Linked DNA regions of Homo sapiens: all the other regions are linked to region 3. The links are contacts of gene promoters, found by promoter capture Hi-C in human tissues and cell types (Jung and others, 2019). All regions are on one chromosome and are shown on one strand. The core of a region is centred on a gene start or on the middle of the fragment in contact, and the rest is flanking DNA. Distances in the headings are between cores, read along the strand shown. Region 1 overlaps CELSR3 (cadherin EGF LAG seven-pass G-type receptor 3). Region 2 holds the start of USP4 (ubiquitin specific peptidase 4). Region 3 holds the start of WDR6 (WD repeat domain 6). Region 4 holds the start of UQCRC1 (ubiquinol-cytochrome c reductase core protein 1).

Region 1 (6,285 bases), core at 1,312-3,811, 350 kb after region 3:
CCAAGTCCCCTCAGGTTTGCTTCACTGTGCACCTGAGCACACACTCCACGCCATGCAAGCCCTGAAGACCTAGCTCCTTGGCCATTCCCTGTGGGAAGGTCCCTCCCTCCAAGAAGTCTGTTTCTCCTGTCTGTTCAAAGGCACTCTGAGCCAGCCATTGTGGTCACCAGTGGGGGGACTGATCTGATGCATCCAGGGTGGCCCTGGGAATGGTTGTGCTTATATGACGGGTGGGATGGGGCGACTCCGCTGCTCCTGATGATTCCACATGCATCTCCCCTCCAGGTGAATCCAACACCGTGGTCAGCCCCACAGTTCCAGGGGGCTTGAGTGACGGGCAATGGCATACAGTGCATCTGAGATACTACAACAAGGTGGGGGCCATCCCTGGCATCGGGTATGAGGGGAGTTGGGATGCTGACTTCTGCTCCTCAGGGGTTACTGGGGGCACTGTTGACTGGTGTGCCTGCGTCTTCAGCCCCGGACAGATGCCCTAGGGGGTGCACAGGGCCCCTCCAAGGACAAGGTGGCTGTGCTAAGCGTGGATGATTGTGATGTGGCCGTGGCTCTGCAGTTTGGTGCTGAGATTGGCAACTACTCATGCGCGGCTGCTGGTGTGCAAACAAGCTCCAAGAAGTGAGGCCCCTGCCCCCTAGTCCCCTTGTCCCCTGCCTACCAAAGCCCACTCCAACCCTTCACATCCCATTCCTCATCCCATCCTGCCAAACTCTCCCATCTTTCCCCCAAACCACCAAGATTCCCCTCTCCTCTCAAAGACCCTGAAAGCCTACTCACCCTAGCCCCCAATCCTGTATTCCACCCCATACTCCCTCCTCCCACACACAGTCCCCAGGCAGTCCTCCAAAGCCTCCACCTCCCCACCCCAGTCTCACTAATGTCCCACATCCCCTCCGAGTCCCTTCATCTCATGTCCAGTCCCCCAGAGTCTTCACGTCTCCATCCCCTCCCCAGCCAGCCAGATGCCTCATTCTTTCATCATAGCTCTCAACCCCCATTCACCTACCTTTCCCCAGACCATCGGCCCATCACGGGTGCCCCTTTGCACCCCAACTGAAGTAAGATCCTAACTCCTTCCACAGCTCGGCCTTATTTTCCTCCCTCAATCACCCTACCCTCTGGGTCCTACCCCCCTGCTTCCTGTGGCCCCCCAGGAGCAACTCTACTCTGGCCCCAGTCCCACCAATGACCCAGACCCCTGATCCCCAGGTCCCTGGACCTGACGGGCCCTCTTCTTCTGGGAGGTGTCCCCAACCTCCCCGAGAACTTCCCCGTATCCCATAAGGACTTCATCGGCTGTATGCGGGACCTGCACATTGATGGCCGCCGAGTGGACATGGCGGCTTTTGTCGCAAATAATGGCACCATGGCAGGTAGGCCTGAAGCTTCCACCAGCCTAGCCCATGGCCCTGTCCCCATCATAGGGAGGAAGTGGAGGACTCCATACCTGACTTCAAGCCAGTCTCCTTTGGTGGCAAGCACCATGCTACAGCCCAGATTTTAGGGCCTGACTCTTACCAACCCCACTCATCGAAAGAAAATGGGAAATGGGGCTGAGATCTTGGTCTCTTTCAGCCCCTCTGGACACTAAAGTCCTGTCCAGCACTTGTGCCCCCCAACCCTTGTTCTCATGTCCGCCATGTGCTTTCCTCTCCCAGGCTGCCAAGCCAAGCTACACTTTTGTGACTCAGGCCCCTGCAAGAACAGTGGCTTCTGCTCGGAGCGCTGGGGCAGCTTCAGCTGCGACTGCCCTGTGGGCTTCGGCGGCAAAGACTGTCAGCTTAGTAAGTGGGCAGCATGGGGCAGAGGGGCCTGCAGGGTCAGATCTGTTCCTGGGGCAGGGGCTGTAACCCTGTTTCTCTTATCCACTCAGCTATGGCCCATCCCCACCATTTCCGTGGCAACGGCACACTGAGCTGGAACTTTGGAAGTGACATGGCTGTGTCTGTGCCATGGTACCTGGGGCTGGCATTTCGGACACGGGCAACGCAGGGGGTCCTGATGCAAGTGCAGGCTGGGCCACACAGCACGCTCCTTTGCCAGGTGTGTCCACCCTGCTCACCCCTATACCCTCAGTTCTCAGTCTCTTAGGCCGCCACTGACATTCTTGTGGGTTCAGGTTGGTCACACAGCATACTTTTCTGCCAGGTGTCCCAACCACACTTGACCCTGCTCTGGACCCTAGCCCTTGATTCTCTTTCCATCATTATATCCTCTGCAGGTGCAGGGCTCCAGCATAGCTCTCTCTTATGCAAGCTGCACCAACCCACCCACAACACCTGGTCCTATCCTCTGCCCCCTGACCCCATATCAGCAACATGATGTCCCCTGGCACAGTGCCCTTTGTGCCAGGTATAACCTTGACCCCACTGTTCTGACCTCTGATATTCCTGACCTCTGAGCCCTCTGATCTCACCTCCAAGTCCCAGCCCACATGGGGCTCTAACCCCAGGGCTATGCATCTCTGCCCACAGCTAGATCGGGGGTTACTGTCTGTGACAGTGACCAGGGGCTCGGGCCGTGCTTCCCATCTCCTTCTGGACCAGGTGACTGTCAGTGATGGCCGGTGGCACGATCTGCGGCTGGAGTTGCAGGAGGAACCAGGTGGCCGGCGGGGCCACCATGTCCTTATGGTCTCACTGGACTTTAGCCTCTTCCAGGTCTGGCCTCTGACCCCGGGGTAGTCTGTTCTCAGCCTTCCAACCAGATCCGCCTTATTTGACCCCACCTCTAGTCCAGCTCCTCTCAGTTCCCTCCACTGCACTGAGTCTGATGTTCTACCCCTAGTTCCCCACCATATATCCTTGCACTGAGCCCACCCACCAGCCAAGTTGGTCCACTCTCAAGCCCTCTTTGTGCCAGATTTGGGGCCTGGTCTTGGGGAACCTCTGTAGCCAGCACTTTGCCTGATTCCTAGAAGCCCCTTCTAGTCTCTGCCCCAGTCTCTACCCACCCCCGGTCAAAATCAAGCAATATTAAGGTCTACTGTGGGTCCAGGAGGGAGGGGGCAGCCTAGAAGGGCTAGAAGAAGGCCAAGACTGACTCTGGGCTATGACAGGGGTTCATCAGGCCCCTCTCCCTCAGTGCTGACTGCCCCACTTCCTCCAGGACACCATGGCGGTGGGGAGTGAGCTGCAGGGCCTGAAGGTAAAGCAGCTCCACGTGGGAGGCCTGCCCCCCGGCAGTGCAGAGGAGGCTCCTCAGGGTCTGGTTGGCTGCATCCAGGTGGGGGTCAGCATGGGAATGTGATATGGGGCATTAGGGTCAGGGGTCAGAAGTCAGGGGCTCCTTGGGACCTGAAAGGCAGTATTCAAGTGGGGGTTGGTGCGAGGGGGTGAATGACCCAGAGTTGAGAGCTAGGTCAAGCCTTTCTGTGGCATTGGAGGTGGGAGTCTAGCTTGGATTATCAAGGGCCTTTAGGAATCTGTGTCAGAAACAGCACAATTAGGGTCCCACAGGGGTACCAAATTGGGGATATTTTTGAGGCCTGGGTTTTTTGAGGGTATCAGAAGACTGCATGTCAAGGATCATCAGACCGGGTGGCTGGCTCTGCAGTACTTGAGGCTGAGGTGCCTTAACATGGTCTCACCCCTTGCTGGCTGTGTGTCCACAGGGGGTGTGGCTCGGCTCCACACCCTCTGGCTCCCCGGCCCTGCTACCCCCCAGCCACCGAGTGAATGCGGAGCCTGGCTGTGTTGTGACCAACGCCTGTGCCTCTGGGCCCTGCCCACCTCACGCAGACTGCCGGGACCTCTGGCAGACCTTTTCTTGCACCTGCCAGCCAGGTGAGCCTTGAGAGGGTTGGGGGAAGGGTGACCTGGGCAGGCGTTAGGGGCCCATGATGAAGACTGGGGAACCTGAAGGAGGCAGGGACTCGGGACGGGTGCCTGCTTCCTTCCATGCTCTGCGACCAGGATCCTGAGCTTTCTGACCCAATCTGCAGGTTACTACGGCCCAGGCTGTGTGGATGCCTGCCTCCTGAACCCCTGTCAGAACCAGGGATCATGCCGGCACCTGCCAGGAGCCCCCCATGGCTATACCTGTGACTGTGTGGGTGGCTATTTCGGGCACCACTGTGAGCACAGGTAAGAGGCTGGGGCTGAGGCGATGGGGAGACCTGGCAGGGACAGGGAGGGTCACTGGGATACCGTGGAGGCATCTTACCTGGCTCTGCACCCCCAGGATGGACCAGCAGTGCCCACGGGGCTGGTGGGGGAGCCCAACCTGTGGCCCCTGCAACTGTGATGTTCACAAAGGTTTTGATCCCAACTGCAACAAGACAAATGGGCAGTGTCACTGCAAGGTGCGCCTGGCCCCTGACCTTTTAACCCTTCCTTGGACGCAATCTGCAATTCCTGTCCAGCTTGCTGACCTCCGCCACCTGACTTGGGCCCTAACCTCTTGCCTGTGTCCTGTGACCAAGTTGCTGTCTCTCATCCTTTACCCGTGACCCCTCCCTTGGCTTCACGCATGACCCAGGTGTCCTCTGGCCCATGAGCACTGTTCTCTTGACCCTTTATCCTTGATTCCACTCATTCCCCAAGCCCTGACCTCTGACTTCAGGCCCCTGGCCCATCCTCAAACAGGAGTTCCACTACCGACCGCGGGGCAGTGACTCTTGCCTCCCATGTGACTGCTACCCTGTGGGCTCCACCTCGCGCTCATGTGCACCCCACAGCGGGCAGTGCCCCTGTCGCCCAGGAGCCCTTGGCCGCCAGTGCAACAGCTGTGACAGTCCCTTCGCAGAGGTGACAGCCAGCGGCTGCCGGGGTGAGCAGGCTCCACCCAGCTCCACCCATAGAGGGCTGGTTCCAGTGTGCCACCATCACGTGTCAGTGGCACACATGGCTCCTTGGGGACTCTGGAAGCTTCTCCTGAGGGAGACCACTTACACCCAGGGAACCCTACCTTTGCCCCAAGTACTTTGCTGACCTGTCACAGAATCTGACAGGTCAGCTCCTGAGAAGCCAGCAGGAGTGGCGGGCAGTGGGCCTTGTGGGGGGTGGTGGAGGGGCAGTGGGTGTGGCTGTCAACTGCCCTGTACCCTGACTGCCTGGCTCAGCACCTCTTCTCTCTCTAGTGCTCTATGATGCCTGCCCTAAGTCCCTGAGATCTGGTGTGTGGTGGCCCCAGACAAAGTTTGGCGTCCTGGCCACAGTGCCCTGTCCCCGGGGGGCCCTGGGTGAGTATGTGGGGGGAAAGGACATCACTGAGGGTGGGGGTGGGCCTGTACTCTGACTGCTAGAGCCATGTCTTTTCCTAAATTGGGTGGCTTTGTTCCTGCAAAGAGGTGGAAGTGGGGTGGGAGTCCATGTGGGCCCCTCCCTACACCCTCATTGAGCCTCCATCTGTTTCTCTTGGCTTCTGGGCAGGATTGCGGGGTGCAGGTAAGGGGTACGTGTTTGCTCAGGTGCACTGCCCCCTCCCACTACCAGAGCTTTTGCAGACCCCTCCTGCTGCCTGAGGTCCCTGCAGACCCCTCCCTGCTGCCTAAAGTCCCTGCAGGCCCCTTCTGGCTATCTGAGTACCCCAGGGGCCCTTCTCTGATGCCTGAGATCCTCAGAGACCCCTCCCCATTGCCTGAGGACCCTGCTGACCCCTTCTCAGTTCCTGGGGTCCCCATAGAACTTTCCCCACTGCCTGAGGTCACGAAAGATCCCTCCTCAGTCTGAGGACCCTATAGCTCCTTCCTGCTGCTTGGGGGCCCCTCCCCACTGCCTGAGGTCCCCTCAGAACACTCCCTGCTGCTTGAGGTCTCTGCAGTGGCTGGACAGAGATTGTTTGTGTACGCATGCTCACGTGTGTATCTCTGTGCCTGTGCACGTGTCTGTGAACCTGTTGCGGGGAGGGGATTCTGTGATTAAGTTAGGCTCTCTCTTGTTGGTAGCTACAAACTTTTTTAAGATCCAAGTCAATTCTCATTCAACCTCCATCCCAACCCCAGAGACAAGGGAGAGAAATGACAGCAAAGTAACCACTGGGGCAGTTAAAACTTGTGTGAGAATCCTCCCACCTGACTTTCACTGGATGTTCCTAGAAGCCCTCTTCTGTGTTGGCATGTCTGTGTGTGTGCGAGAGAGCATTGTGTGTCTGCGTACTGGTCTGGTCCATACATCTGTGTGTAATTGGTGAGCATTGGTGTGTGTCTGTGTGAACCAGCACATCTATGAGCCAGTCCTGGCCCACGTGGGTGAGTGTGTGCAGCCCCACCCTTGTGCTTTGTGTGGTTGCTGGTTGAGAATGGTCTACAGCCCTCTCAGGAATTGC
Region 2 (6,055 bases), core at 312-2,811, 330 kb before region 3:
GAACTCCTAACCTCGTGATCTGCCCGCCTCGGCCTCCCAAAGTCCTAGGATTACAAACATGAACCACCGCGCCGGACGCCCGGTCTTTTTTTTTTTTTTTTTTTAAGACATTTCGGTCTCCACGTTGGTCAGGCTGGTCTCGAATGCCCGACCTCAGGTGATCCTCCTGCCTCGGCCTCCCAAAGTGCTGGGATTACAGGTGTGAGCCACCGCGCCCGGCCGGTTCACACCCTTTATTTGTATTTATTTTTTTTTTTTTGAGACAGGGTCTCACTTTGCCGTCCAGTCTCAAGTGCAGTGGCGCCATCTCGACTCACTGCAACCTCGACCTCCTGGGCTCAAGGGATCTTCCTACCTCAGCCTCCCAAGTACCTGGGACCACAGACGCGAGCCACTGCCCGGCTATTTTTTGTATTTTTTTGTAGAGACGGGATTTCGCTATGTTGCCGAGGTTGGTCTCTAACTCCTGGGCTGAACCTATCCTTCCGCCTCAGCCTCCCAAAGTGCTGGGACGACAGGCTTGAACCACCGCGCCCGGCCTGGTTCACACACTTTAATGGCACTTACCACATACTGCTAGGCATTGAGGTTATTTCTGTAACATCTCTTCTTTTCTACTAGATTCTATGAGGGCAGGAACTAGGTCTTATTTTTCTCTGAGGACAAGGACTGTTAGACAAGTGTATGGAGACGCATCTAGACCAACTGCCTGACTTCCTCTTTCCTCTGGGTTTACTTCTCCCTCCAAGAGGAGGGTTGTGTGTGTGAGCGGGGCGACTGGAAAACATAGTGTTCAGGACGTTGTATCTTGTTCCAGGAACTAAGTACACGCCTGGGTAACTAATGTGGAGTACCTCTCCTTCCCCTGTTGCTATCGCCCCTCTGTGGCTGCTTGGCAAGTAGCTCAGTATGAAGAGCTGACGGAATTCTGCGGTGGGCCAGGTGGCTCTGGCGTCGACTGTTTAAGGCGACTGTTAATGACTACAACACACCATTGAGTCTTGGTCCCAAGGCGCTGGTGCACATGGTACTTCCCGAAATCCCTGTAGGGCCGCTGGAGCAGGAGCCCCGATCCCACGTTTGGGCAGCTGACTCGCCTAAGGCCTCCAGCTGAAAGCGGAATTGCAGGGGTGAGAATGAGCAGACCTAACTACCGGGCTTCTCGCACCTGGCCTGCATTTATTTAGGACCACGATAACCTCGAAGGCCAGGCTGGGGTGCCCGATGGGTCGTGGGCTTGCTGCCTAACTCCCTGAGATCGGCGGGCTGAACAGAGCTTCGAAGTGTAGCGCCATCCTGAGCAGAGGAAGGGGCGCCCGAAGGCCGCGTAGCGGGCGGCAGGGCGGGAGGAAGTAGCAGCTGCTGCTCCCCGCCCACCCCTCTCGCGTGTGCCTTTCCGCTCCACTGTTCGCCGGTGAGCTAGGTGGCGCGAGAGCGGAGGGGAGAAAAGACAGCGGCTGCAGGAGCCGAAGGCCGCGGCTCGAGGTGGGGCAGGGGCGGGCACGCGAGCGTGCGTGCGTGGGCGCGGTCTATAGCACGCCGCGCGCGGGGCGGATGTCCGGGCCGGCTGGGCCGGGGCCGCGGAGGAGATGGCGGAAGGTGGAGGCTGCCGTGAGCGACCGGATGCGGAGACTCAGAAGTCCGAGCTTGGACCCTTAATGAGGACCACACTCCAACGCGGGGCGCAGTGGTGAGCTCCCGGCTCGCTCTTCCTCTATGCAGAACCAGGGGCCGAGAAAAAGGGGCCTCCTTTTTCTCGGCTAGAGTAGGGGCTGGGCGGGGATGGTATGTAGTGACCCTGGAAGAGTAGCCTGACACCTGCCCCTCAGGAGAATAACTCCAGGATCAGCTCTGGGAAAGCGCAGGCGGGGCCTGAGTGTCGTCTCAGTTCATTTGGAGCCCTAGGGGGCGGGCCCGGCGGGGGCCAGGAGGAGGGATGTGGAGAAGGGGAAGGTTGGTGGGGACCCTAAGGGTGGGGAGAGCCCTTTACCATGAGGACTCGCCGTGTGACCTTGGGCGAAGGTGTCACAGACCTGGATTCCTCACTGTTAAAACCAGGATAGCAATATTTGGCTCACCGACCTCAGTGGGTTGAGGGGAAAATCAGAAGTAGATACTTTGTAACTTGTAAACTGCCAACAGATGTCAAGGTCAGAAGCTGAACAAATGTCTGAGAACCCCGATTATTTTGGTAGCAAGTGTCAAAAATATTTGCGGCAGCAGTGTCTTGGAGTGGGAGAGGAGGATAGCCTAGGTCCTGGAGCTAGATAGAAGATGAAGGGTCCAGAATTTAGAAGACCCAGGCTGAGTTATTAGGCATCTTAATAGATTGTTTAGTAGAGGGGACAATACTTTGTACTACTGGAGAGATTCCTGGGTGGTGTAATTGTGTAGGAGTAGAAAAACTAAGGCTAGACTTTGCATCGAGTATGATTGTTACCCATCTTGTTTGTTTTGTTTTGTTTTGAGATGGAGTTTCACTCTTGTTGCCCAAGCTGGAGTGCAGTGGCGTGATCTTGGCTCACGGCAACCTCCGCCTCCCGGGTTCAAGCGATTCTCCTGCCTCAGCCTCCCGAGTAGCTGGGATTACAGGCTCACGCCACCACACCCAGCTAATTTTTTGTATTTTTAGTAGAGACCGGGTTTCACCATGTTGGGTAGGCTGGTCTCAAACTCTTGACCTTATGATCCACCCGCCTCGGCCTCCCAAAGTGCTGGGATTACAGGTGGGAGCCACCGTGCTCGGCCCGAGTGTTACCTATCTTTAAGAAATCATTGTGGTGATGATCTGCCGAGGAATTGAGCAGGAGAATAGAAAAATTGGGGTTAGGAGGAGTACAGATAACAGCTTATGTATTCACCTTGAGCTAACCAGTTTGTGAAAGGCAGGGTAAACAGAGGTACTTTTTTTGTGTTTTCTTTTCTTTTCTTTTCTTTTTTTTTTTTTTTTTGAGAAGGAATTTCGCTCTTGTTGCCCATGCTGGAGGGCAATGGCGCGATCTCGGGTCACGGCAACCTCCCCCTCCCATGTTCAAGCGATTCTCCTGCCTCAGCCTCCCCAGTAGCTAGGATTACAGGCATGCGCCACCACGGCCGGCTAATTTTTTTTGTATTTTTAGTAGAGACGGGGTTTCTCCATTTTGGTCAGGCTGGTCTCGAATTCCAGATCTCAGGTGATCGCCCGCTGTGGCCTCCCAAAGTGCTGGGATTACAGGCGGAAGCTACTGCGCCCGGCCTAGCAGAGGTACTTTTTAAGTTAACCTCTATAGGGTTCATAAAGAATACTCAGCAGAAGTAGAGGAAGTTTAAGATAGACTAAAATCATACAGTAAAATTGTATGGAAGGTATTGCTCAAGGGATTTGGAAGAAAAATAGCATTTTAGAGATGGATGTGTTTATGGATCCTTGTGACCTCTGGGAAGCTGCCTGACCTCCTCTCACATTTGTTGGTTATAAAATTTTAAGGATGCACCAATATAATTGTTGATGCTTTGTTGCTCCACAGAGATTGTTTTAATTGTAAAACAGCATAGAGATACTTTTTTTTTTTTTTTTTTTTTTTTTTTTTGAGACGAAGTCTCGCTGCATCACCAGGCTGGAGTGCAGTGGCGCGATCTCGGCTCACTGCAATCTCTGCCTCCCGGGTTCAAGCGATTCTCCTGCTTCAGCCTCCCGAGTAGCTGGGATTATAGGCATGCACCACCATGCCCCGCTAATGTTTGTATTTTTAGTAGAGACAGGGTTTCACCATGTTGGCCAGGATGGTCTCGATCTCCTGACCTCGTGATCCACCTGACTCAGCCTCCCAAAGTGCTGGGATTACAGGCGTGAGCCACCGCTCCCGGCCAGCACAGTGATACTTTAAAAATATAAACAGGTCTGGTGCAGTGGCTCATGCCTGTAATCCCAGCACTTTGGGAAGCTGAGGCAGGAGGATCACTTGAGGCCAGGAGTTCAAGACCAGCCTGGGCAACATAGCAAGAGCTAGCCTCTACAAAATAAAAATAAAAAAATAAATTAGCCAGGCATGGTGGTATGTGCCTATAGTCACAGCTACTCAGAGGCTGAGGCAGGAGGATCACTTGAGCCCAGGAGTTTGAGGCTACAGAGAGCTATGATTGTGCCACTGCACTCTAGCCTGGGTGACCCTCTCTCTAAGGAAATAAATAGGTAAATAAAATACCACATTTGCTTACATTTAAGTAAAAAAGTGGTAAGTTGAATATGAAGCACAAATTAATGCTTTTTGACAAGATGAACAATAGGCACTATTATATGTACATGTGTATGTGTATATTTATATATGTACACGCATGTTATGTACTTTTTTTTTTTTGACAGGGTTTTATTCCTGTCACCCAGGCTAGAGTGCAATGGCATGATCTCAGCTCACTGCAACTTCTGTCTTCCGGGTGCAAGTGATTCTTGTGCCTCAGCCTCCCGAGCAGCTGGGACTACAGGCATGTGCCACCACGCTCAGCTAATTTTTGTAATTTTAGTAGAGATGGGGTTTGTTGCCCAGGCTGGTCTTGAACTCCTGAGCTCAAGTGACCATCCACCTCGGCCTCTCAAAGTGCTGGGATTACAGGTGTGAGCCACTGCGCCTGGCCTTGTGTGTACATTTTTGGAACTCCTTTGGTCCTTAAAGGAAAACTGAAGTGGGTGGTGTTTCTAACCCATTTTCAGAAAGAGCATTAGTTTAGTGCTGTTCATGTCAAGCAAAACAGTGTAACCAAACTGTCTGCCTGGAGTGGGACTTCTGTAAAGATCATTATGAAATTAATGACTTGTGGCCGGGTGCGGTGGCTCACGCCTGTAATCACAGCACTTTGGGAGGCCGAGGTGGGCAGATTACCTGAGGTAGGGAGTTTGAGACTGTCCTGACCAACATGGAGAAACCCTGTCTCTACTAAAAATACAAAATTAGCCAGGTGTGGTGGCACACACCTGTAATCCCAGCTACGGGAGACTGAGGCAGGAGAATCACTTGAACCCGGGAGGCGGAGGTTGCGGAGAGCCGAGATCACACCATTGCACTCCAGCCTGGGTAACAAGAGCGAAACTCTGTCTCAAAAAAAAAAGAAGTTAATGACTTGTTTATTAGCAAACATGATTTTACCCATGAAAAGACTCCATTTAGACTGAGTGTGGTAGCTCATGCATGTAATCACAGCACTTTGGGAGGCCAAGGCAGGAGGATCACCTGAGATCAGGAGTTCGAGACCAGCCTGGCCAACATGGTGAAACTCCATCTCTACTAAAAATACAAAAAAATTAGCTGGGCCTGGTGATGCATGCCTGTAATCCCAGCTACTTGGGAGGCTGAGGCAGGAGAATTGCTTGAACCCAGGAGGTGGAGGTTGTAGTGAGCCAAGATCATACCACTGCACTCCAGCTTGGGCAACAAGAGCGAAAACTCCGTCTCAAAAAAAAAAAAAAAAAAAAAAGAGGCCAGGTGCAGTGGCTCATGCCTGTAATCCCAGCACTTTGGGAGGCCGAAGTAGGCGGATCACCTGAGGTCAGGAGTTTGAGACCAGCCTGCCCAACATGGTGAAACCCCGTCTCTACTAAAAATACAAAAATTAGCTGGGAGTGGTGACAGGTGCCTGTAATCCCAGTTAGTCAGGAGGCTGAGGCAGGAGAATCGCTTGAACCTGGGAGGCAGAGGTTGCAGTGAGCCAAGATTGTGTCACTATACTCCAGCCTGGGCGACAGAACAAGACTCCGTCTAAAAGAAAAAAAAAGAAAGACTGCATTTAAATAAGCATTTTGAAACCACTTGTTTTCTTTCTTTTATTCACTCTTTGAACAATCATTTCACTTAATGGATGCATACCCTGGGCCAGACTCTCTGTGCCATGTGGGGCCTGGGCCCTGCTCTTGCTCTTGTGACAGTGTTTTTTAGTGGGTATTGCATATGCCCCAAGTGGAAGGACCATAAAAAAGATTAAGGAAGCAGCTGCAGAAATTTATAATCTCAGCTTTTCTGCTACAGTAAATTTCTGTCTCTCTCTAGGTATCTTATTGACAGCCGGTGGTTCAAGCAGTGGAAGA
Region 3 (6,726 bases), core at 78-2,577:
AGATCAAGGCCTGAAACAATGTGGCCTCTGCTCGCTTGTCCAGCTTCCTTTCCTCCCAGACTCCATTCCTGCTCTAACTTCACAAGAATTCCCTCCTTCCCCCAAAATGACAGATTCTTCCAGCCTCAAGGCCTTTGGCATGCTTACCCTCTTGCCAGGAACTCACCCCTTTTCCTAGTTCACTCTTGTGGTTCTTTGAGTTTCTGCTTCGTTGTTCCCCCTCAAGGAGCCTTAGGAGTTTAGCTCGCGGTAGGAACTCCGCGCTCCAAGAACCCCCACACCAGATCAAAACTGGATCATCCCCACCCCATACACACACCCTCTTAGGACTGGTGGCAACTCACTCAAGGCCTGACCGCCAAGGCCCTGCCTCAGGACCCTTATACAACTCAGCAGCACCAACATGGGTCATTAGTGGCTTCATGTAATGACTGTTCGAGACCAGCCTGGACTCTGACACCTCAGGTCCCAGGCCTCGCCTGTCCTTTGCGACCCGGTTCTCCTTGGAGGGACCTCCACACCTGATTTCCTGGACCTCAACCATCTCAGGAGGGGGTCTCAGCCCCTGCTTCCCCGGGCACCGCCCCCTACTCGGAAAGGTCTTATCCGCCGTTTTCCGCGACGCCACCCTCCTCAGAGGATCTTCACCCCCACCTTAGGGGGAAGAGACTCATCCCGCCCTCGAGAGGCCACACCCTTGCCCTCTCCCGGCCCCGCCTTCCCCAAGAGGCCACACCCCCTGAGGGGCCGGGGCCGCCTCCGCCTCCTCCTCCTCCTCCTCCCTCCGCCCCCCCCAGCTCGGCCCCGTCTCCTTCGGAGAGGCCAAGCCCCCGCCCATCTCCTAGAAGGGAGCACACCCCCTCAACCCTCAGCTCCCGGGCCTCCGCCTCCGCCTCCGCGCGGCCGCGTTCCCCTGCACCCTCCCGCGGTTCCACCCGCCCTTTCCACGCGGGCTGAAGTTTATGAAGCGCCGCGGCGGCCACATCAGCTTTGTCTCTCGGGCCCCGCCCTCTTCAGGTTGGCCCTCGTCCCCGCCATCTCCGGGGCTCCCTTCCCACCTCCGATCGGCCTCAACCTGCTGCCCGTCCTTCTCCTCAGGGCACCCCTTTTGTCCCTGTGGCACCGCCCCTGGGAGGCGCTGTTTCTTTCCCCCTTTCCACCAGGCGTGCCTCAAGCCAAGCCTCACCCGCCAACAGCCGGTCCCCCACGCACTCCAGACCCGTCACTGGGAGGAGTATAAGCTCCGAGGTTGCCCGCGGCCAAACGTAGTCCTCGAGAGCGTCCATGTCGATCCTCGAGGTGCTGAGGCAGCCACGGCTAAGAAGGGAGCTGAACTCTCGCGAGAACGAGCCTTCCCAGCGCGCCGCGCTGCCCATCAACAGCGCCCTCAGCTACAGGTAGCAGAGACCAGGGCGCCCGCGGCGGTTGTCCAATGACGACCCTTCGTCCCACGCAATCCAGCTCATCATTGGCGGGGCCCGCGGAGGGGCATCCCGCCCCTCGCCCCCTCACGTGACGCTTGCGGGGCGCTCCCAGCTGCCAGCCCGCTGCACCTATCGCGGACTCTGTTTCGCCGACCCGGAGTTTGTCGGGCCCGGCGGCTCGAACCTTGTGGTTTTTTATTTGACGGGGCAGATGGAGTCAGTACACAATAAATAACATGAATATAGGAACTGCGCCGTATCGCGGCTGGCGGGGTGGGGCAAGACATTGGCCAGACCTTTAGTCTGCAGCAGGACAGAAGGACAGCCGGACCCCTGATCTTGGGCAACTGGCGACCCGCGGCTGGGAACCGGGGCTAACTCTTCCCTCAGAGTTCCACGCGCGCATCGCGGTAGGCCCGGTCCAGAGCCCACTCGGGCTGTGAGTCGGTGCCCCCTTCTCGGGCAAGGCGGGCCATCTCCTGTTGGAACAGCGCTTGCCGCGCTCGGCTGGGGTCCACATTAATCCAGTTGTTGGCAATCCACTTGGTGCCGCGCGTGACCAGGCAGCCCCCGTGCAGCGAGTAGTCGTCTACGTCACCCACCCAACCTAGAAGAGGAGGGTGACGTGAGATCCTAGGCTGGGCTGGCCAGAGCTTGGCCTCATAGGCACCAAGAGCATGACCAAGGTGGGTCCAGCTATGCATTCCTTGTGTAGCAAACACCCAGACCTAAAGCTTCCTTGGAGGCTCCTCATCTCAGCCCACTAATGTATAGTCAACACTACTGGCCCTCTGAAACCAGCTTTCTTGCTGTTGGGCCTGTCCATATCCCTTCCCATCCTGGGTTAGCAAGGGACATGTGTCCCAAGCCCCAGGGAGTAGGAAGGCTGGGGCATCAGGGAATGATAGGGATGGATATAACCCAATAAGCAGTACAGGTCCTGGGGCAGTCTGCTAAAGTCACTAAGGATGGCCTTTGGGAGGCACCAGGAGCAGAAAACTATTTGGAAAGCAGCCAGAAACAGCCCTCCATTGTGGCAGACGGGGGCTGGGTAAAGGGAAGCTGTACTCAGGGCACCCCCCCCAGGCCTGGCCATAGGCCCTCACCTTGCCCATCAGGCAGGTAGTTGTACCAGAAGACTGCTGTGCCCTGTTGGGGCTTGACACGCAGGTTTCCCTTGTCACAGTGCCTCCGTGTGTCACGGAGGTCCACGTCATCCTGAATCAGACTCTGTGGGCAGCAGGGTGGTGGGGTGTTCAACCTGTCCCCACTCTATGGCCAGGCCAGCCAAGGGTGACCAAAGGGAAACCAACCAGATATGCCCAAGGAATAATTTGGGCCCACATCCTTAGACCTGGAGAGGTGTGTACTTCACTTGTCTAAGCCCCTGCCAGCCCACAAGAGTAATAGCCCAGTTGACCCTTACCATTTCATCGTAGGTTCTGTTATCTGCTACAGGGAAAACAGTCTCGCCCCCACCAGTGACGTTGTTCAAATAAAACAGCACTGTCATGTAGCTGTAAGGCAGGGGGGGCACTGAGCAGGTCCCCAGTTGTGGATGCTCCCAGGGGCTTACCTGTGGGCAGGATAAGCTGCCCAGGTTCCTGTTGCCAGGGACCAGGACAGACTAGGATGGGAGACAATAGGGCAGGCCAGTGCCAAAATGTCCCTAGCCCCTCCTTCCCCGAAACCCAGTCTCTTACTGTGAGTTGCAATGGTTTTTTGGCCAAGATCACAGGTGCACTTAGTTAAATGCCATGGCCCTGAGCAAGGGCCTGGCAGGGAAAGGTAGGCTAGCAGAAGCAACAGGGCGCGCTGAAGGGCTCCTTGGGGATGGGAAGGGGCTGGGCCAGAACAGCCACCTGAAGAGGAAAGAACTGGCTTGACAGGGGAGGGAGGCACAGCTTCAGCTTCTCTAAGTGGAATCAAGATCAACACCTGGAGGAATGGGCAGGACAAGCTAGGGGCCCAGCCTTGCCCCTTGCTTCAGAACTCAGGGGGCAAGTTTTGGTGTCTGTGGGTACATCAGTCTGTGTTGACTCCAGTGGTCACGATGACCAGTAGCCACCCCTTTCCAGCCATTGGGTAAACAACTTGTGGGGAGAGGTGAGGGCATCACTAACCGGGATAACCCAGTGATCTCCTGGCCCCATGCCAAGGGGCACGCCCACAGTGCAGGGCTGTGCCTGTGTCATGGGTGTTCCTGGTCTGAGGATTGAAGGCAGCCCCCAGTTGGGAGATACTTGCCGGCAGGAGGTCTCGAAGGGTACAGACTCGTTGGCTACCAGCTTGGTATGGGAGCAGATGGTCTCTGGGTACACAGGCCCACTGTCCACGTGGGCATGGTAGTGGCCCCCCTCACCATATCGAACAACCTGCAGCGGCTCGCTGAGCTCCACGATCTCAGGCGACAGGCGAGTGAGGCGCAGCACCCTGGTGGGCAGCAGGCATTTGGCTGGGCAGCCCCAGGCAAGGTGGTGATCTGAAGGAGCTGGCCAAGGTGGACCCTAGGCCTGCCACAAGCTTTGCCCCTACCCACCTCCCCTGGAAGTCCCTTAAGCCATCTCAGACTGGCCCTGTAAGAGCAGGAGGGGGTTACTCATGATGATCCTTCTCCCTCAGATGCCAAAGACAGAGACACCTGCTATGTGGAAATGTTGACATTTCCACTAAATAAAGGGGGCGGGGAGTCCTGAGGTCCTCCTCCCTGGAAGAAAGTTGTTTATTTAAAAACCCTTTTCCTGCTGTGACGGGGTCAGATAAGGGGTCAAAGATAAGAGGTCATTTATCTAATCAGAAAGAAGTGCTCAATCTCTATCTAACCCCAGTTGCCCATTGTGTGCCTGCAAGGAGGGCTAATTTGCCTTTGTTAATTGCCTGTCTTTCAGTGGGTCCCAATCCTGGTCTAACAAATGGAACTTAATCCCAAATGGGTTAATCCATTCTGTCCTCTTGGCCCCAGACAAGGACTTCTGTGGAGGCCCTGCCCAGTCTTCTCCCCCTGCTCCAGTGAGAACAGCTTCAGGTGCTCACCTCTGGCGGATGGCACGCATGATGTGGTGGGCACCCTCACCCTGGTAGAGCCAGGTATGGTGGCTGTTCCGCACCAGCTCACTGGACTCTGCCTTGTGGCTCCTCATGTACTTGTGGAAGTCCCGAAGGTCCATGTTGGAGAACTCCTGCAGACTCAGCACTCCTGCACAGGGCACCCACCATCAATGCCCACCAAGCCCATATTGGGAGGCAACAGTGGCAGGCTGCACTTCCCTACCTACCCCAAAGGCAGCAGCAGCCCCTGACCTCAGGCACTGAGGGGCCTTGTACACTTGTCCCCCACCTGGACTTTTGGGTCAGATGAACCTGGTTTCTGTCACATCAGGCCTTACAGGAAGACCCAGAGCAGTTCCTTTTCTCAGTTTAAGCCCTAATTTGGCCCTAAGAAGAAAGAGGCCCACCCCCTATTAGAGTGGCCAGAGAAGGTTCTCCAAAGGAAGCTTGAGCCATATGGCCAGGACCCTGGCCTTCCAGCCTGGCTATATAGAGTGGTGGCCACTCTCCGGCCTGTGGAGGGTGAGGAGAGAGCAGGCAGTGCTGGGCCTCATCCAGGGCCTTACATACATACGCCAGGGTGCAAGCAGGGCCAGCCCCCGGGGAGTTCCTCATGACCCCAGGTTTCATCCTGGGTGGAACCTACTTCGCCAGCCCTGCCTACTGCGTTACCAGCCCACCTTAGCAACGAAAGTCAGGCCACCCCCTCTCATGAGAACATTCTCCACTGTCCCTGCTCAAACCATTAAGCAGGGGTTCTACCCTCTTGGGGTTCTGGAAGAGTAGTTGGTATCTTTGCTCCATGTTATTCTGGCTGACCCAAGGACATCACCTTCCACTCTTTGGCCCAGATTCCTCTGAGGGTGGGGGACATTCAAGGGCTGTGAGACTGTCACCACCTCTGTTCTGGGGCCTATAGCAGTGTGGCAGCCATCCAGCCACAGGTCACGGCCAGATTCTTCACTCTGGTTCACCAGCCGCAAAGCCACTGTTCCAAGTCCTTTCTAACTGCTGTATCTTCCTCTCTTGGTCCAGAATTTGGGCATGAGGGTGATGACCACACCTCAGAAACCTCCTGAGAGTTATTACCAGAGGGGGCACCACTTGCATGACAGCTTCCCTGCCCACCCCTCCCCAGCAGTTAGCACAGGTAGCAGCACTACCATTTTAGGCGCTTCGGCATGACTCCAGGTGGACAAGAGGAAGGCAAGGGAGATCTCACTTAGACCAGGGAAGCTGTCTGCTGGGGTGGACCTCGTGTCTGGCTGGAGAGATGGATGGAGCAGGGTAAACAGCCAAGCTCTAGCTGGCCTCACTGTCGCCTTGCTCCTGCTCCACCCACTCTGTTCTCTGCCAACTAGCAGCCCTACTTCCTGTCCCCAGGCTCTCAACTCTGCCTGATGTTATCAAAAGGGTCTCCAAGAACTGCCCTCGAGACCATCACCAAGGGGAACGGGGGGCCTGGCTGCCTGCCTACTTCCCAGGGGTAAAAAGCAAGGCTGGATCTTCACCTCCCCATCTCTGGCCACTATAAAGGGGTGCAGAGAGGCTGCCTGGCTGTGGGGGAAGGGCCCAAGTTTTCAAAATTGTGCACCTGGGAGTGGGCAGGAGGCTCACGGGGATAGGACTGTGCAGAGGTGTGAGCTCACCGTCACCATCAGGGTCAGCCTTGATCGCGGCGTACATCTCCTGAATGCTCTCTGGAGTCATCCACCATCCATTTCCCAGGCGAGTCTGGGCCAGAACCTAAAGCATAAGAGGGTCCCTCAGTGGGTGACCCCAGTGATGGAGAGCCAGCAGAGAACAGATGGCCCAGTGCTTGTTGTGGAGCAAAGTGTTCAGGTGAGGGCATGGATGAGGACACAGGGCAGAGCCCATTGGGCCAAAGTGAGTGCAGGTAGAAAGGTACAGAGCATCTGAGGAGAAGGCCGGGGGCTGGGGGTCAAGAGGCGTAGGCCATTTGCATTCCCGGACTAAGGCCCCGTGGCCTTCATGGAGAGCACTGTTGGTTGGAAGCAGAGTGAAGGACAGGCCTGTGTCCCACTCAGATACTCCGGGTGAGATGGGGAAAGCCAAGTCCTGGGTGTTAAGGGAGAACAGGCACCAGGGGGAGACCTGGTTAGGGCATGACCACCAGATCCCTCAGAAAGACCAGGCTCAGTGGGGTGTTCTGTGTGGGCAGTGCCCCGCACCACCACCCTGCCAGACTTCTCTCAGAAGCTTGGCCCTCCAGCCTGGCTGTAGAGTGTGTGAG
Region 4 (6,436 bases), core at 2,305-4,804, 400 kb after region 3:
TCACGTCCAGGGGCGGTGGCTCACATCTGTAGTCCCAGCACTTTGGGAGGCCAAGGCAGGAGGCTCACTTGAGCCTGGAGTTTGAGACCAGCCTGGGCCACATAGTGAAATCCTGTCTCTACAAAAAATATAAAAGTTAGCTGGGTATGATGGTGTGCACCTGTGTTCCCAGCTACTCAGGAGCCTGAGGTAGAAGGATCACTTGAGCCAGGGCATGGTGGCGTGTGGCGTCCCAGCTACTTGGAAGGCTGAGGCAGGAGAATTGCTTGAATCCAGGAGGCTGAGGTTGCAGTGAGCCAAGATCACGCCACTGCACTTCAGCCTGGGTGACAGAATGAGACTCTGTCAAAAATTAGCGATGTTGGCATGTGCCTGCAGTTCCAGCTACTCGGGAGGCCGAGGCAGGAGAATTGCTTGAACCTGGGAGATGGAGGTTGCAGTGAGCAGAGATCCTGCCACTGCACTCCAGCCTGGGTGACAGAATGAGACTCTGTCTCAAAAAAGAAAGAAAAAAATAGAGATCATAAGACTGAGAGAATGAACCCTTTGTAGCAATAAGATACCAAAGTATAAACAAGACATTAAGGCCATGCCAGGCAAGAGTTAAGCCGTTCACCAAAGAATAAACTATGTTCTAACTGCTGCAAGGTTTTTCTTTTTCTCCAGCAGCTAAACAAGCACTGGCCTTGAGATAAGCAATATAGAAACAATTGCAGTTCATCCATCACCAGACACTGACCCCACAAGCCATAACTATAGCTTTGATTGCACAAGAGATGGATTTTGGTGACTTTTTCCTAATAAGAGACCACTGACCAGGGACTGGCTTCAGTTGGTTTATGGAACCTGTGCACTGAGTGCTTTTGTATCCTTCATTTTGACATATGGTGCTAATTGTATTTCTTTTCTTTTTTTTTTTTTTTTTTGAGATGGAGTCTCCCTCTGTAGCCCAGGCTGGAGTGCAGTGGTGCGATCTTGGCTCACTGCAACCTCCGCTTCCCGGTTTCAAGTGATTCTCCTTCCTCACCCTCCTGAGTAGCTGGGACTACAGGCATACGCCACCACGCCCAGCTAATTTTTGTATTTTTAGTAGAGACGGGGTTTTACTGTGTTGGCCAGGATGGTCTTGATCTTCTGACCTCGTGAGCCACCCACCTCGGCTTCCCAAAGTGCTGAGATTATAGGCGTGAGCCACCGCACCCGGCCTGTAATGTATTTCAATGTTAAGTCTCCACCCCAAAGTGAACATGGGTCATATACAACACACATGTTTATTCAGTATACTTGCATTAGGACCCCCTTCATGAGTATCTATAGCTCTTCCTGTAACCTGTTGAATATGGTATTTTTTGTTTTTGTTTTTTCTTTTTTGAGACAGAGTCTCGCTCTGTCACCCAGGCTGGAGTGCAGTGGCGCGATCTCGGCTCACTGCAACCTCCGCCTCCCAGGTTCAAGCGATTCTTCTGCCTCAGCTTCCCGAGTAGCTGGGATTATAGGCACATGCCATCATGCCTGGCAGATTTTTTGTATTTTTAGTAGAGACGGGGTTTCACCATGTTAGCCAGGATGGTCTCAATCTCCTGACCTTGTGATCCGCCCACCTCGGCCTCCCAAAGTTTGGGATTACAGGTGTGAGCCACCGTGCCCGGCCGAATATGTATGTTTAGCCAAGCCATTCGACATAAAGCTCCTGCCTCTTTTTAAGGGTCTGTCTCTGGTTTTGACCAGAAGCCCACCTCCCAGCCTGCAGGTTGTAACCCTTTATAAGAAATAAAGTCAGCCTGGCACGGTGGCTCATGACTGTAATCCCAGCACTTTGGGAGGCTGAGGTAGGAGGATCACTTGAGCTCAGGAGTTTAAGATCAGCCTGGGCAACATAATGAGACCCCCGTCTCCACAAAAAATAAAAAAAAATTAGCTGGGTGTGGTGTGAGAGCCTGTGGTCATGGCATCTGGCATGATTTTTATAAAGATAGTTTTATTTTAAGTATAAGAGTAGTTTTTGGGTAAGGTGTGGTGGCTCACCCCTGTAATCCTAGCACTTTGGGAGGCTGAGGTGGGTGGATTGCTTGAGGCCAGGAGTTTGATATCAGCCTGGCCAACATGGTAAAAAATGCAATGATCCTAGCCCTTGCCTCTTCCTGTACTTAAGATACTGTCTGACAGGATTAATGATTATGCTTCTGTGACCTATAAACAGATGTACTCTTGCACCCAAACCTTGATGAGATTTATGCTCTAATGTAACTTCTGAGCACATTTGATGTAATTTCTGAGCACATGGAGAGCCGCCACCACCAGTGTATAAACTGTCGGAAACACTGCTTTGGAGCAGTCTAGCAGAAACTCCCTGAAAGGCTCTCCCGGGTTGCAATTCTTGGTAAGACTTCTGAATAGAACTAACTTTAAATATTTAAAAGCTTGTTTTTTTTTTTCTTTAGTTGACATAACAAAGCATACCTTAGAAGTCTTTTTTTTTTTTTTTTTTTTTTTTTGAGACGGAGTTTCGCTCTTGTTGCCCAGGCTGGAAATGGCGCGATCTCGGCTCACCGCAACCTCCGCCTCCCGGGTTCAAGTGATTCTCCTGCCTCAGCCTCTGGAGTAGCTAGGATTACAGGCATGCGCCACCACGCCCGTCTACTTTTGTATTTTTAGTAGAGACGGGGTTTCTCCATGTCGGTCAGGCTGGTCTCAAATTCCCGACCTCAGGTGATCCGCCCACCTCGGCCTTCCAAAGTGCTGGGATTACAGGCATGAGCCACTGCACCCAGCCAGAATTCTTTTTCCTCTTACAGAAAAGGAAAGGTTTCACCATGTTGGCCAGGCTGGTCTTGGACTCCTCGCCTCAAGTGATCCACCTGCCTCGGCCTCCCAAAGTGTTGGGATTACAGGAGTGAGCCACCGCTCCCGGCCTGTACTTAGTTCTTTTAAAGAGAAAACTGGCAGGGCGCAAAACTGGCCAACATGGAGAAACCTTGTCTCTTCTAAAGAAACAAAAATTACCGGGCATAATCCCAGCTACTCGGGAGGCTGAGGCAGGAGAATCGCTTGAAGCCGGGAGGCGGAGGTTGCAGTGAGCCGAGATCGCGCCATTGCACTCCAGCCTGGGCGACAGAGCGAGACCCTGTCTCAGAAAATAAAAAATAAATAAAGAGAAAAAAATACTGACTTTCAGCACCAACTTGTGGTCCCAGGTAAGTTTCCACGCTGGTACTTTAGCCCTGGGCTCGAACCTGCGGACACGCTGTGGCTGCAACTCCCCGCCCGCCAGACCTCAGTACGCAGCGCGGCTGGTGAGAAACATAATGCACTCTGACTTCCACGCGTGGAATGGGGAGATGGACTGCACGGCGGGCGGACCTGCTCGGGCTGATGGACGGCAGGTGGACTGATGTGCGCAGGGACTGGCGGCAGCGCGGTCAGAGCCAGTCAGCCAAAGCCAGGCCAGCACAATAGACTGTCCCGGTTCCCGCCAGGAGGCGGCCGAGCACCAACTGTACGGTACTGCGCCTGCGCCGCGACCGCCAACGCGCCCAGTCTACGCTTGCGCGGCGCAACAGGGCCGACTGCAGCTGGAAGATGGCGGCGTCCGTGGTCTGTCGGGCCGCTACCGCCGGGGCACAAGTGCTATTGCGCGCCCGCCGCTCGGTGAGGTGGTGGCGAGAGCGCGGGGCTTCGGGACAGGGCTTCGGGAAGCGGACAGGTGTGGGCTGTTAGCAGTGGCAGGTCGAGGTGGGGAGGACGCGGGGTCAGGGCCGTGGGAAGGTCACGGCGGAGGGCGGGGAAAGGTATCTCGCCGCTTGCCTAGGGGCGGGGTTCGGGGGTCCTCCTGAGGACCTGGGAGGTGGGGAGCGATCCCCTGACCGAGTCCTCACTCGCGGCTGTTCCCTTCCACAGCCGGCCCTGCTGCGGACGCCAGCCTTGCGGAGTACGGCAACCTTCGCTCAGGCGCTCCAGTTCGTGCCGGAGACGCAGGTTAGCCTGCTGGACAACGGCCTGCGTGTGGCCTCCGAGCAGTCCTCTCAGCCCACTTGCACGGTGAGTTGGGGACGCTTTTGGGGAGAGGGCCTCCAGGTTGGGCCTGCCGTCTTTTCCCTGGTTGGGGTGTGACCTTGGGCTCGAGTCTTCCCGTTTGTGGTTTGGGTTCGGACCCAGGACCACTCACCCCGAGAATGGCCCCATTCCCTACCCTAGCCACGCCTTGGCTTCACGGGACAATCTTCACTATAAGCCAACATTATTTAGCATATAATGCCCGTTAAGTAGGCGGCCAAATTCTTTTCCAGCCTTTTGTTAAGGAGCCCATATAAGGGAAGTGATCATGTCTCCTCTTATAATGCGGAAAATGGGATTCAGACACCTTAGGTGACTTGCAGGGGTCCAGGTCTGTCAGCCTCACTGCCCAAGGTCATAATCTCCAGGCTAGACCAGAAATACATTTTAGGAAGCAAATGCATTTTAACAGTACAATGAAATGTGTGATTTTCCAAAAAATACAAATTCTCTAAATTGACACAAGAAATCTTGAGTCACAGATAGATATATGAATAGGTGAGAAGATTCCCAAGAAATAATTATCTCCTCCTCCTTTCAGCCCCCAGCCCCAGGGCCAGATGTTTTTATTGACACATCCTTTTAGTTTTCCAGAAACAATGTCCTGCGATTTAAATTGTTACTAAGCATAGGAAAAGGTGGCCTGCAACTTCCTTGTTATATGTCACTTGTTATAGTAAAGAATGCTATATTACATGAACTCTAAAATGTGCTAGATTGTAAGGAGCTGTCTGTGCTCCAGTGCCAGAGAAAGAATCTCAAGAATCTTGCCAATTTTAATCAAAGGATACTATAGATTGTAAAATGCCTCTTGCATTCCAAGATGTTAGATGTGAAATACATGTTCATCTAAGATTGTGTGATATATGGTATATGCATTGACATCTCTTAGGAAAGCAAATATCACATGTTCTCACTTATCAGTGGGAGCTAAAAAATACGTACATACAGATGTAGAGAGTGGAATGATGGACAGTGAAGACTTGGAAGGATGAAGGGGTGGATGATGAGAAACTACTTAATGGGTCCAGGCCTGGAGGCTCACACCTGTAATCTCAGCACTTTGGGAGACCAAGGCAGGCGGATCAGCTGAGGCCAGGAGTTCAAGACCAGCCTGGCAAACATAGTGAAGCCCCATCTCTACTAAAAATACAAAAATTAGCCATGCATGGCACACGCCTGTAATCCCAGCTCCTGGGGAGACTGAGGCAAGAGAATCGCTTGAACCCGGGAGGCAGAGATTGCAGTGAGCCGAGATGGAGCCACTGCACTCCAGCCTGGGTGAGAGAGCGAGAGTCCATCTCAAAAAAAAAAAAAGAAATTACTTAATGGGTACAAGGTTTGTTATTCTGGTGATGGATAATTCAGAATCCCTGATTTGACTACTTGTGCATTCTGTGCCTGTAATGACATCACACTTGTGGGCGGGGCACAGTGGCTTACACCAGTAATTCCAGGGCTTTGAGAGGCCAAAGCAGGAGGATCGATTGAGCCCAGGAATAAGAGGTTGCAGTGAGCCATGATTATGTCACTGTACTCTGGCCTGGGTGACAGAGCAAGGCCCTCTGTCTTAAAAAAAAAAAAAAAGAAAAAAATGGAGTTTCAGGTGTGGATAGAAATTTCTAAAAATTGTGCTTGTACCCCATAAATTTATACAATAAAAAAAAGTCTTGGCTGGGCGCAGTGGCTCATGCCTATAATCCCAGCACTTTGGGAGACCGAGGCAGGCGGATCACGAGGTCAAGAGATTGAGACCATCCTGGCCAACATGGTGAAACCCCGCCTCTACTAAAAATACAAAAATTAGGCTAGACGCGGTGGCTCACGCCTGTAATCCCAGCACTTTGGGAGGCCGAGGCGGGCGAATCACAAGGTCAGGAGATTGAGACCATCCTGGCTAACACGGTGAAACCCCGTCTCTACTAAAAATACAAAAAATTAGCCGGGCGTGGTGGCGGGCGCCTGTAGTTCCAGCTACTCGGGAGGCTGAGGCAGGAGAATGCCATGAACCTGGGAGGCAGAGCTTGCAGTGAGCCAAGATCGCACCACTGCACTCCAGCCTGGGTGACAGAGCGAGACTCCGTCTCAAAAAAAAAACACACACACACAAAAAAACAAAAATTAGCTGGGCGTGGTGGTGCACGCCTGTAGTTCCAGCTACTCGGGAGGCTGAGGCGGGAGAATCACTTGAACCCAGGAAGCAGAGGTTGAGTGAGCCGACATCACACCACTGCACTCGTCTCGTGACAGAGTGAGACTCCATGTCAAAAAAAAAAAAAAGTACTTAGGAAAGTAGATGTGAAAAACTTAAATCAGCTGTGAACAAATAGTAAATTAAAAGACTAGACCGTGTGACCAAGTGGGGTGAGTGGTACGTGTTTCT

The links. The method cuts DNA at HindIII sites, captures the fragments that hold promoters and counts their contacts. A contact is called where the count stands out against the background at its distance.
Region 1: a contact is called between a fragment that was not itself captured here and the fragment with the promoter of WDR6 in region 3, in 1 of the 25 tissues and cell types used here (dorsolateral prefrontal cortex).
Region 2: a contact is called between the fragment with the promoter of USP4 here and the fragment with the promoter of WDR6 in region 3, in 1 of the 25 tissues and cell types used here (dorsolateral prefrontal cortex).
Region 4: a contact is called between the fragment with the promoter of UQCRC1 here and the fragment with the promoter of WDR6 in region 3, in 1 of the 25 tissues and cell types used here (dorsolateral prefrontal cortex).

Annotation. Positions count from the first base shown.
Region 1 is chr3:48,649,395-48,655,679 of GRCh38, reverse strand. It overlaps CELSR3 (cadherin EGF LAG seven-pass G-type receptor 3), which reads left to right. Exons shown (of 35, transcript NM_001407.3): 5 at 286-374; 6 at 479-636; 7 at 1,228-1,391; 8 at 1,677-1,802; 9 at 1,892-2,061; 10 at 2,493-2,678; 11 at 3,127-3,243; 12 at 3,632-3,803; 13 at 3,962-4,103; 14 at 4,201-4,321; 15 at 4,605-4,788; 16 at 5,099-5,200. Among named protein-coding and RNA genes, the nearest start is that of MIR4793, 8.3 kb to the right of the region's middle. The HindIII fragment of the contact is 6,463 bases long and covers 1-5,792 here.
Region 2 is chr3:49,335,559-49,341,613 of GRCh38, reverse strand. USP4 (ubiquitin specific peptidase 4) reads left to right here and starts at 1,561. Exons shown (of 22, transcript NM_003363.4): 1 at 1,561-1,690; 2 at 6,018-6,055. The coding sequence starts at 1,590. RefSeq lists enhancers at 941-1,000, 1,091-1,260, 891-1,390 and a silencer at 1,431-1,620. The HindIII fragment of the contact is 25,899 bases long and covers 1-6,055 here.
Region 3 is chr3:49,001,992-49,008,717 of GRCh38, reverse strand. WDR6 (WD repeat domain 6) reads right to left here and starts at 1,327. Exons shown (of 6, transcript NM_018031.6): 1 at 1,187-1,327. The coding sequence starts at 1,286. P4HTM (prolyl 4-hydroxylase, transmembrane) reads right to left here. Exons shown (of 9, transcript NM_177939.3): 4 at 6,122-6,218; 5 at 4,458-4,620; 6 at 3,672-3,857; 7 at 2,851-2,941; 8 at 2,531-2,654; 9 at 1,565-2,031. The coding sequence ends at 1,811. RefSeq lists silencers at 653-832, 1,373-1,422 and an enhancer at 1,561-2,549. The HindIII fragment of the contact is 10,419 bases long and covers 1-3,053 here.
Region 4 is chr3:48,606,764-48,613,199 of GRCh38, reverse strand. UQCRC1 (ubiquinol-cytochrome c reductase core protein 1) reads left to right here and starts at 3,554. Exons shown (of 13, transcript NM_003365.3): 1 at 3,554-3,648; 2 at 3,898-4,038. The coding sequence starts at 3,580. RefSeq lists enhancers at 3,164-3,273, 2,970-3,484, 3,564-3,663 and a silencer at 3,834-3,933. The HindIII fragment of the contact is 22,312 bases long and covers 1-6,436 here.